Linked DNA regions of Homo sapiens: all the other regions are linked to region 4. Evidence: promoter capture Hi-C in human tissues and cell types (Jung and others, 2019). All regions are on one chromosome and are shown on one strand. Each heading gives the region's core, a stretch centred on a gene start or on the middle of the fragment in contact. The rest is flanking DNA. Distances are from core to core; before and after follow the strand shown. Region 1 has its middle 15 kb from the start of KCNQ5. Region 2 overlaps RIMS1 (regulating synaptic membrane exocytosis 1). Region 3 overlaps RIMS1 (regulating synaptic membrane exocytosis 1). Region 4 holds the start of KHDC1L (KH domain containing 1 like).

The links. The method cuts DNA at HindIII sites, captures the fragments that hold promoters and counts their contacts. A contact is called where the count stands out against the background at its distance.
Region 1: a contact is called between a fragment that was not itself captured here and the fragment with the promoter of KHDC1L in region 4, in 2 of the 25 tissues and cell types used here (dorsolateral prefrontal cortex and spleen).
Region 2: a fragment that was not itself captured here is called in contact with the fragment with the promoter of KHDC1L in region 4 in 2 of the 25 tissues and cell types used here (IMR-90 fibroblasts and lymphoblastoid cells).
Region 3: a fragment that was not itself captured here is called in contact with the fragment with the promoter of KHDC1L in region 4 in 1 of the 25 tissues and cell types used here (dorsolateral prefrontal cortex).

What each region holds. Positions count from the first base shown.
Region 1 is chr6:72,605,527-72,608,226 of GRCh38, forward strand. No RefSeq gene overlaps it. Among named protein-coding and RNA genes, the nearest start is that of KCNQ5, 15 kb to the right of the region's middle. The HindIII fragment of the contact is 6,628 bases long and covers 1-2,700 here.
Region 2 is chr6:72,285,175-72,287,874 of GRCh38, forward strand. All of the region lies in intron 24 of RIMS1 (regulating synaptic membrane exocytosis 1), which reads left to right. Among named protein-coding and RNA genes, the nearest start is that of KCNQ5, 340 kb to the right of the region's middle. The HindIII fragment of the contact is 4,356 bases long and covers 1-2,700 here.
Region 3 is chr6:72,390,841-72,393,540 of GRCh38, forward strand. RIMS1 (regulating synaptic membrane exocytosis 1) reads left to right here. Exons shown (of 34, transcript NM_014989.7): 31 at 1,858-1,970. Among named protein-coding and RNA genes, the nearest start is that of KCNQ5, 230 kb to the right of the region's middle. RefSeq lists a silencer at 1-74. The HindIII fragment of the contact is 4,037 bases long and covers 1-2,700 here.
Region 4 is chr6:73,224,226-73,226,925 of GRCh38, forward strand. It overlaps KHDC1L (KH domain containing 1 like), which reads right to left and starts at 1,271. Exons shown (of 3, transcript NM_001126063.3): 1 at 1,072-1,271; 2 at 1-123. The coding sequence starts at 1,183. LOC122539213 (KHDC1-KHDC1L) reads right to left here. Exons shown (of 7, transcript NR_173146.1): 5 at 1,072-1,196; 6 at 1-123. RefSeq lists enhancers at 1-826, 61-355. The HindIII fragment of the contact is 18,776 bases long and covers 1-2,700 here.

The DNA.
Region 1 (2,700 bases), core at 1-2,500, 620 kb before region 4:
CAAATTCCCTGTTAAATCTTTTTATTTGTTTGAGGCTTGTGTAGTTGATTGCTTGCTTATTTGTTGCTTGCAACAAATCATACTCTGACATTGCCCAAAAGTAATTGCCCCAGAAATAAAAGGTGTAATTTTTAAATCTGTGTATTAATTTTTATATAAATGCTAACTTTGTGGTCACAATTCCAACAGACTGATGACATTGAATATGATTCTGTCCTTACACCTCGAAATCACAATCTGTGGAACTTGAACTCTTTCAAGGGGACAAGCATAAGGAATATTTCTATGTGTAGGGGACATTGGTCATGTTTTCCGACTTGTCAGTTGCTTTTGAGTGTTCTTGCTTTGTTTGAGTAATTCCAGGCTCTAACAGTGCCAGAGCACCAAGATAAAGGCAGGAAAAATAGAATGGTCCCACTTAAGACTTTGAATTGGAAATGAGTAACTTAGGAGGTAGCAAAAACTCAGCTTCCATTTGGTTGGCTTTATGGAGCAGTATTGGTTTTAAGACCAACTACTAGCTAAAGGAGATATCATGCTGTTGGAAATTGCAGTACAATAAAGAAAAGTTCCAGCAAATAGGATGTTCACTGTGGCATCAATATTATCAGACCACTTTTGCATGGTTTGGTACATTGTTCCTAAATGCTTAGCTTTGGGCCTGGTTCTCTAACCCTTGCCTCAATAATGTGTGCAACTCAATACTCTCCAAATAAACTCCTTTTAATTTAATTAATCAGAGCCAGCTACTGTTGTTCTCATCTGAGAACCAAAACCAAAACGAAAGTCAATGCCAGGAGCACTACAAGGAAAAAAGGGCCCAGTCATTTACAGCCTGGGAAGCCAGTGACTCTTGATAGACACTATAGGCAGGTAGTTGCATGCTAGATCTGGGGTATAGACAATGTGCCAGCTGAGGTTGGAATGTTAGAGCAAATGCTACCAAATTTTCAGAATATTTGTGTGTAGTAGACTTAACTTTCTGTTTTCAGGAAATTGCTACAAGAAAGAGATGAAAACCTTAATGATTAGCAACTGTTCTATTTCTAAGAAAGATATGTTAAGTCTTCCACTGTAATTGTTAATTTGTCAAATCCTTCTTGTAGTCCAGTGTATGCTTTATATATTTTGAACCCATATTATTTCATCCATACAAATTTAGAATTGCTGTATTATCCTGGTGAGTTGAAACTTCTATCATTATGAAATGCCTCTTTAATCTCTAGTAATGCTTTCAGCCTTAAAATCTATGTTGTCTGATACTGGCATGACCATGTCTTTTTCTATCCTTTTACATTCAACCTTCTGTATCTGTGAATTTAAGGTATGTCACTTGGGTAATCAAGGAGGTGGCCTATGGTAGACGTTGCTGGTTGTCTGTCTGTTCCCCATTTGTTTACATGGTTCTCAATTATTTCCAATATATTCAACTAAAATAGTTCACTTTCCTTACCTTACTTGCAGTTGTGGTTGGTCATGAGATGGTTCTGGCCAATAAGCTGCAGGTAGAGATTCATCAGGAGGACACCCTTTCTGAATAACAAGCAAAGTCCATTTTTCCCTTGAGCTTTTCCCTTATTCTCACCTGGAATTTCATACATAATGTTTGGAAACATAGCTGCCACTGTTGTGACCGTAAGGATGAATGACACATGCTAAGCAGGTGAAAGTGGCAAATGGAAAAAGTTAGGCCTTACGTCCTTGTGGAGGCTTGCCTGCCTGACTCTTGACTCAAGTCTTCTCTGCTTGAAACAAATAGGCCTTACTTAAACCAGTGTTTTGGGGAGGGGGTCTCTATTAGCAGCTGAACACATTCTTTTTTTTTTTTTTTTTTTTTTTTTGAGACGGAGTCTCGCTGTCTCCCAGGCTGGAGTGCAGTGGCGCAATCTCGGCTCACTGCAAGCTCCGCCTCCCGGGTTCACGCCATTCTCCTGCCTCAGCCTTCCGAGTAGCCAGGACTACAGGCGCCCACCACTACGCCCGGTTAATTCTTTTCTCTATTTAGTAGAGACGGGCTTTCACAGTGTTAGCCAGGATGGTCTCGATCTCCTGACCTCGTGATCCGCCCGCCTTGGCCTCCCAAAGTGCTGGGATTACAGGCGTGAGCCACCGCACCCGGCCCACATTCTTAAGATACAATTGTAATGTTAGGATTCAGAATCTCCAGGAAAGGGGTATCTGTACACCTAGAAATACCAGGTTCAGTTAGGGAAGTGACTCTGTTCTTCTCTCCTGTGTTTGAAGCCAGAATGATCAGTGTTTATGGGCCTTTGCAGATATATCTTCTTCTCTTATATGTGGCTGTTAATAAAATTTCTAAATAGACAACCCTCTATTCCTAAAAGCATTTTCTAATTTGGAGAGATATATGGTTTTGTGGTTAAGATCACAGTTTCTGGAGTCAGCGATTTTTCATATCCTGTTCATATCCCCACTTTTTGGTTACTGCTTGTGTGATACTGAGCAATCTCTTAATGTTTCTGAGCTTATCTCCACATCTTAAAAATGGGGAGAGTAGTAATGCCCATGTCATATAGTTGTGGCAGGATTAAATGCAGTTCTTCAGAAAAGCATGTAGGAGAGTGTATATTGACTTTTTTTTTCCATCAAGAGTTAAAATTTAAAACTTGGAACTATTTTAGAATTTCTGCATTGGTTGAAAGAAATTTAAACTCCATTCAAACTCTAAAATTCAACAGC
Region 2 (2,700 bases), core at 43-2,542, 940 kb before region 4:
TCTGTGAGCCACAGATGTGCTTTAAACATGGGAGGCAGAGGATCAGTTTTGAGTTCCAAAATTATAGATCACTTTGACTGATTTTTGGAAGGTAGATCAAAGGATCTAGGGGTAGATGCAAGGCATCAGCCAGGCTATCTCAATAGGCCTAGTAGAGATAGAATTTGTACAATTCAGTGATTCATTCAGTTAACAGATATATACCAACTATGTGCTAAGTTCAAGTAATAAAATAGCAAGTAGCAAAAAAGAAAAGCTTTCCAGAGGATGTTAACACTGAGTTGAGATCTGAAAAATGAGTAGGTGTGAGACATATCAAGGGATGTGGTATGTAAAAGGGAGATGAAATTTATTTCTGGACAGTGGTCCATGGAGAAATTGACTATTTAGGGAACTTGATTCACAATGGAATAAGGATACAGGGGACTCATGAAAAGTGTTGAGTAGTACAAAGAGTTGGACTTTGAGGAAGGAAATTGATCAATCGATAGATAGATAGCCTTTGATGAAACAATGTTTGTATTTTCACATTCTTTAATCCCAGCTCAGTTAACTGCAGTTTCTTTACCATCATTGTAAATAACTATAATTTCTTAGATAAATTTTCAATCTTCAACCATCATTTTCAGCCCCCTCTACACAATTTCAATTATTTTGACATGATTAAACCTTTTCCTTGAAGTTGTATTCTTTTAATTCTATTCAGTATTCTTTCATTCATTTTTTAAAAATACTAGTTGAGTCTGGTCATGGTGGCTCACACCTGTAATACCAGCACTTTGGGAGGCCAAGGCGGGCAGATCATCTGAGGTCGGGAGTTTGAGACTAACCTGACCAACATGGAGAAACCCCATCTCTACTAAAAATACAAAAGTAGCTGGGCCTGGTGGCACATGCCTGTAATCCCAGCTACTCGGGAGGCTGAGGCAGGAGAATTGCTTGAACCTAGGAGGTGGAGGTTGCGGTGAGCCGAGATTGCGCCATTGCACTCCAGCCTGGGCAAGAAGAGCAAAACTCCATCTCAAAAAAAAAAAAAAATTGCTAGTTGAGTGACTACTGTGTGTAGTTATATATTAAGGATACATCAGTGAACAAGTTTTTTTGGCAATAAGATACTATTTTAGAAAATGATAGATGATGCCAGTGTCAGCTGGAGGTGCTTAACTCCAGATTAATGATATTGAGGCATCTGCCTTTGCAACTCTGAAATGTAATCTGTGGATAAACACAAATCCTCCAATCAGAATAGCAAGGATTTGATTGACTTTCATTTTCAAATATATGACACTTATGAATCATATTCATAGTACTCTTGCCTTTCCTTTGCTTATAGTTTAAAGTAGAAAGCTGTAACCTTTTAGATGTGTTTGATTATAATTAAAGCTTTTCATTGATTTTTATTAGAGTGTAAACTACATGCCTAGTTTCTTTGTGAATTGTTGAATAGCAGGTTACAAAAGAAGAACTGGCCTGGGTTTTCTAATTTATGTTAGCTCTGAATAAGAGCTGTTAAGAAGATACCTTGAATTTACATCTAGCTACACGTGAACCGAAGACACAGTATAAATGCTTTGGACACTGACTCCTGGCCTTTGAGAGTTGATAACTTCCCAAAAGGAGTCATACTACACAGTTTTGCACTGGTTTCTGGCGAAATTTGCTGTTTAATGATCATAATTTTAAAGGCCTTTTATTGCCCTCAACAAATGTAACCTCATGACAGATAGCCTTTTAAGAATATATTTTGAAAGAGATGATGACCAGTTGTCATTAGGAGACAAGTAGAACTGATTTATATTTTTTGTGTCAAGCCACTTAAAGAAATGTATCATATTTTCTTTGGAAGCTTCTTGATAAGATAAAAGTCTAGCTTTTCATCTTCATGTGAATTCACCCTTGAGAACTGCTGCCCATCATTTCTGCATTCCATTCTAGTGACTTTTCTTCCTGTAGAAACTACACTCTACATTCTAACTTGGGGATGCTTTATTTCTTTATTTGGACTACTATTTAGAATTGCTTACATATGCATTTTATGGTGTGTTATTGCAAAAGAGCCTGTGCAGGCCTGTAACGGACCAGCACAGTAGGAACCACTTTGAAAATTTGACCTTAAATACCACATACATGTCCATTCTTTAACAAGTTGTTTAAAAACAAAAACAACAGAACTACATTGTTTTTAGGCTTTGGTAGAAGCAATTTACTGCAAGTCCATTTGCAGCAACAAAAATGTCTGACTAAAGACGCAAATTTTTATTGAGAAGTATGTTTTACTTAAGTGTAAATCAAAACTCTAGTCTTAGATGAAGGAGAGTAGGCATGGATTGAACTTAGTGGTAAATGTTTAGATACATACTTGAAGATGGTAAACTTAGGGTCAGGCATACATAAGTTTGAATTAAACTTTTGCTCTGCAAACTTTTTTTTTTTTTTTTGGAGATGGAGTCTTGCTCTGTCACCCAGGCTGGAGTGTGGTCACACGATGTTGGCTCACTGCAGCCTCTGCCTCCTGGGTTCAAGTGATTCTCCTGCCTCAGCCTCCTGAGTAGCTGGATTACAGGTGCGTGCTATACGCCCGGCTAATTTTTGTATTTTTAGTAGAGACGGGGTTTCACCATGTTGGTCAGGCTGCTCTTGAACTCCTGACCTTATGATCCACCCGCCTCAGCCTCCCATAGTGGCATGAGCCACCACGCG
Region 3 (2,700 bases), core at 115-2,614, 830 kb before region 4:
TCAGAAGTTCAACCATCCATTTTAAACCACCCTGATGGCTTATAAGTAAGTACACATGGACACACCTCTACACCTGGTCATTCATACCTTTCAAAGGGTGAAGAAATTCTGAGTCCACATGAACAAATTGATTTCTTGCATCTAGGAAAGCCCAGACTAGTTCCTTACTGGATGTTTAGTGTACAAATGCCACAGGTAATGGACTCTTTCATATGGGAAACTCATAGTCTGTCCCTGTCACCAAAGTCCAAGTTAAAATTTATAAGTAAGGAACTGATTTCCCATTTTCTTAATTTTCTCCAAGCTATTTTGGACCCTAAGCTTTTCTAAGTCTAACACTGTCATATATGTAAGTTACATTTTCTTGTTTTTAAAACATTGCTGACTCATTTTTACCTTAGGAAATAATCCAGGGTCTATCAGCTTCATTATTTTTCTGACTAAAATGTTTTAGTTAATTCTGAAAAAATAGAATACGATTTTTAAAAATTTACTCTTTTCGATTCTTTTTCTTTTTTTTTTTTTTTTACCATTTCATATGGATCCTGCACAAAACCTGCTTCTTCCTATGCTTGAGAATATTTCTGGTAAAATTGAATTTTTATTGAGGTAGTGGATCTTACAAATAAGTAATTAATGTGTTGTTTTGGATTACATGGAGATTCACCACATATAAATTTTCCATAATTATTTGTTCATTACCATTCACATTACTCATATACCAATTTGATATTTCTAATTTCTTGTCTTTACTGGAATTTTTCTATATTGTTTAGAAAATTTAACAGAATTATGCCAAGTTACTGTTTGTGATATTCCTTCCCATTCCTGAAACTAGTTGGTCTCTGTTTAGTTGGTCAAATGATTGGCTTGTTATGCATGTTTCCAGTAAGGAATATAAGAACAAAAATCAGCAGGTATGAAAGTTACAGAGATAAACTTACTGACAAAATACCCATATTTGATGAAGTAGCATAAAGTAATATACAAATGAGACTTGAACACATCATTTTCTGATATAAAAAAGTAACAAATAAAATTTGCCTCCATCATAAACCATTTAATCTCTTGGATTTATTTTCATGGTCTCTGGATGGGATTATAATCTGTGTCCCATTTAATTTCCTTGGTTAAAAGAAATAATAGATGTGAAAGCACAATGGAAAGAGTAAGTCTCTATAGAAATATGCTCATTCAAAAAATGCTTATTGAATGCCTATCACATAATGAGCATAGTTGTCATTACCCAGTGATAACTACATCAGTCAACAAGAAGAGAACAGGCACTGCCCTTGTGCAGCTTACATCCTGGGGCTATCAGGAAGTTGTATTATAGGAAGAAATACAGATTTTTTAACCAATTAATTTCCATTGGAACCAAATAAAAGTCTCAAATAATTCATCTTTGAATCAATTAAATGTTTATAAATAAGAACTTGAACTATGTTATAACATTTATTCAAGAAATTATTGGCCACTTTAAAAATTTAGCATGAATGTTACCTAATGTTCATGAGCAAGTATCTGTGTGAAGTTTATGATATAAAAATTCGCATCTTATGTTTTTTTGTCAGCAACACATTTATATAAGGATTTGGAACTTGGTATATTAAAAACTATAACTGAGCCCTCTTGAATAGAGCATTAGGTGTTAAATTGAGAGTTTACACCTTTCCTCAGTCAATGTTAAGCCTCATATGCTTGGCTCAAAGGCAATGCAAAGAATCAATTAAAAAAACAGATTGTCTAAGTAATATTTATGTTTCATGATCATAATTAGTCAAGTGGAAACTAGTGAAAAGAATTCTAGAAGATTTCATGGGTTTTTTCCTTTGGTTTTTATCCTTTTGCTGATAGTTTAATATTTCCTGGAGTGCGACTGGGAGCTGACAGTCAATTCAGTGATTTTCTTGATGGATTGGGACCAGCCCAGCTTGTTGGCCGCCAAACCCTTGCCACCCCTGCAATGGGTAAGAATCATTTTTTTTTTCTACAAGAAAATTGATGTTTTGTGTTTGACAAAGTCATTTAAAATATTTAAAATTGTGTAATAGCAATACAAGTGAGAAGCAACATTTTAGCTACAGAGTTACTGTTTGCAAACAACTATTCTAATTTCAAGTGCATTTTTCTAATTTGAGATGTTATGAAAAAAGAAGTAAAATTAGCTATAAATATTTGAATTACCAGAAACCCTGATATAATAGATGTAAATGTAGGACATGGGTGGCATTTCACAGCATGGAAAAAAAAAAAAAAAGACTGTTCAGTAAAGTATAGTAACATAACTATTTACCTGTGTGAAAAAATTAATGGAATTCCCTCACGCCTACACAACTTACCAAAAAAGTTAGTATTTTAGACTCAACTATAAAAAAGAAAAGGGAAGGTGGAGAAAAACACTAAAAAGTACTGGAGAACACTTAAGTTAATCTGTCTGTAATCTTGCAGTGGGAAAGAACTTCAGCAAAATGCATGAAAATAGATCAGCTTGAAGACACAACATAGTGGAATTTCACAATACTGAGGCTTGATAGAAAATCATGCAAGCTTCCTAAGAGGAAAAATAATTTTACAAAAAAACTATCAAAAATCAGATTCTTGCCGGGCGCTGTGGCTCACGCCTGTAATCCCAGCACTTTGGGAGGCCGAGACAGGCGGATCACGAGGTCAGGAGACCGAGACCATCCTGGCTAACAC
Region 4 (2,700 bases), core at 21-2,520:
GCTTTGCCATTGGTGGTCCGACTACAGTCACACGTGTCTGGCCTGTAGCTGTGAAACACCTCTCCAGCTGAATAAGGGTGTGGCTGTGCAGCTCAATGCAGCGAAGGTACGTGTCATCAAGTCCTGTAAGCACAAGAAGTGAGAAGAGAAACTGTCAGCCACCAGTCCTTGGGGAGTGAGGAGGTGGCCTTGAGGGTAGGGATGTGTGACTCATGAAGGTGGGAGGAGAGGGGAAGATTGAAAATCGAGAAGGGGATGAAGGAGGCCGGCCTAGCGCAGTGACTCATGCCTGTAATCCCAGCAATTTGGGAGGCCGAGGCAGGTAGATCAGTTGAGGTCAGGAGTTCCACACACGCCTGGCTAACATGGTGAAACCCCGTCTCTACTAAAAATACAAAAAATTAGCCGGGCGTGGTGGCAGGCGCCTGTAGTCCCAGCTCCTCGGGAGGCTGCGGCAGGAGAATGGCGTGAACCCGGGAGGCGGAGCTTGCAGTGAGCCGAGATCGCGCCACTGCACTCCAGCCTGGGCGACAGAGATTCCATATCAAAAAAAAAAAAAAAAAAAAAAACACGAGGCCGGGCGCAGTGGCTCACACTTGTATTCCCAGCAGTTTGGGAGGCCGAGGCCGGCAGATCAGGAGGTGAGGAAATCGAGACCATCCTGGCTAACACGGTGAAACCCCATCTCTACTAAAAATACAAAAAAAATTAGCCGGGCGTGATGGCGGGCGCCTGTAGTCCCAGCTGTTCTGGAGGCTGAGGTGAGAGAATGGCGTGAACCCGGGAGGCAGAGCTTGCAGTGAGCCGAGATCGCGCCACTGCACTCCAGCCTGGGCGGCAGAGCAAGACTCCGTCTCGAGTCTCAAAAAAAAAAAAAAAAAAAGTACAAAAACTAGTTAGGCGTGGTGGCAGGCGCCTGTAATCCCAGGTACTCTGCAGGCTGAAGCAGGAGAATCACTTGAACCCAAAAGGCAGACGTTGCAGTGAGCCAAGATCACGAGCGAGAATCTGTCTCAAAAAAATAAAAATAAAAAACAGATGAAGGAGGGGACGTGGGCAAAGGCCACTCACCGAAGATGAGCTCCTCCTGGTCCTCTTCCATGTGGAACACCATTGGAGAATGAAAGTTTTCGGGCAGGGTCCACCACGGCTCCTTGCTGAGAGCACTCGTTCCCACGGCCATGCTGTGCTCCCACCTGATTCAGAATAGGGGAAAGTCTAACAAACTGGTTGGCAAAAGACTTGGAAAAGCGAGGAAGGGCCTAGGCTCTGTCCTTAAAAAGGGTTGTCCTTAATAAGGGTTGTTGGAATCCAAACAACCCGCCCCTTGATCCACCTTAGGGTGGATGTCCAATCCCCGGAGGTCTTCCCAAGATAATTCATTCCAAGTAATTATCTGCTCTGAGCTTAATTCTTTCAAGTCAAACTTAATCATCTGATAAGTGCTTGGCTTTCTGATGTCCTGGAATCAGAAATTTTTCTTCACTCTAAATTCAAAGAATTTTGGAGCAGGGGGTTGAGGGTATGGAGGTGCAGGAAGGCTCCAAATGGGCTCCCTAGATTTGCACAGGTGTCGGCAGCCACCCAGTGACCACACAGTGTATTCCAACACGACTTGGTTTATTTGGTGTGTTGCGTCAAGGGAGAGCAAACAATAGAGGAAAATAAACTTGATAGGATAGTGTCATAGGGAGCCCATTGTAGGAGTTGACTAGGGCAGTCCAAGGCGTGTTTAAGGAGTAGGAGCCAGTTCTCTAAAATGGTGCAATTTGATGATTATTCTGGTAAATTTATCTAGGAAGTTGAGAGACTAATGTGGTCTTCACTGCAGAATGTTATCTCTCTCTGGTTTCAAATATAGTTACAGAATAGACTTTCTATATCTTGTTGCATGACAATCACTGAGCAAACTTGACTGCTTAAAATATTCTTCGGCCGGGTGCAGTGGCTCATGCCTGTAATCCCAGCACTTTGGGAGGCTGAGGTGGGCGGATCAGGAGGGCAGGAGTTCAAGACCAGCCTGACCAACATGCTGAAACCCTGTCTCTACTAAAAATACAAATACATTAGCCGGAGTGTGGTGGTGCACACCTGTAATTCCAGTTACTCAGGAGGCTGCAGCAGGAGAATCGCTTGAAGCCGGGAGGCAGAGGTTGCAGTGAGCCGAGATCGCACCACTGCACTCCAGCCTGAGTGACAGAGCGAGACCCCGTCTCAAAAAAAAAAAAAATTTTGCAGGAGATGTTTGTGTGTGGTAGGGAAGATTCAGCTTGGCCTGTCAGCTTCCCACTGCAAGTTCCTGGGTGATTTTTCACTTTTCATCCTCCTCTTTTGACCAAAGACAAAGTCAGCCATCAGGACTTTCATCTGTGAGGTTCAGATCTACACCACTGTCTGAGTCCACAGATCACAAGGTTATCGGGAGAACATTCTCTGCATCCACATACATTTGGTCTCTCATATACATTTAGTACAAAATATACAAGTGAAAATATAATGACTGCACAGTAGCATTTAAGACTGAACAGGAGGCCAGGCGCTGTGGCTCACGCCTGTAATCCCAGCCCTTTGGGAGGCCGAGGCACGTGGACCACCTGAGGTCAGCAGTTCACCGCCAGCCTGGCCAACATGGTGAAACCTCGTCTCTACTAAAGATACACAAATTACCTGGGCGTGGTTGCGGGCGCCTGTAATGCCAGC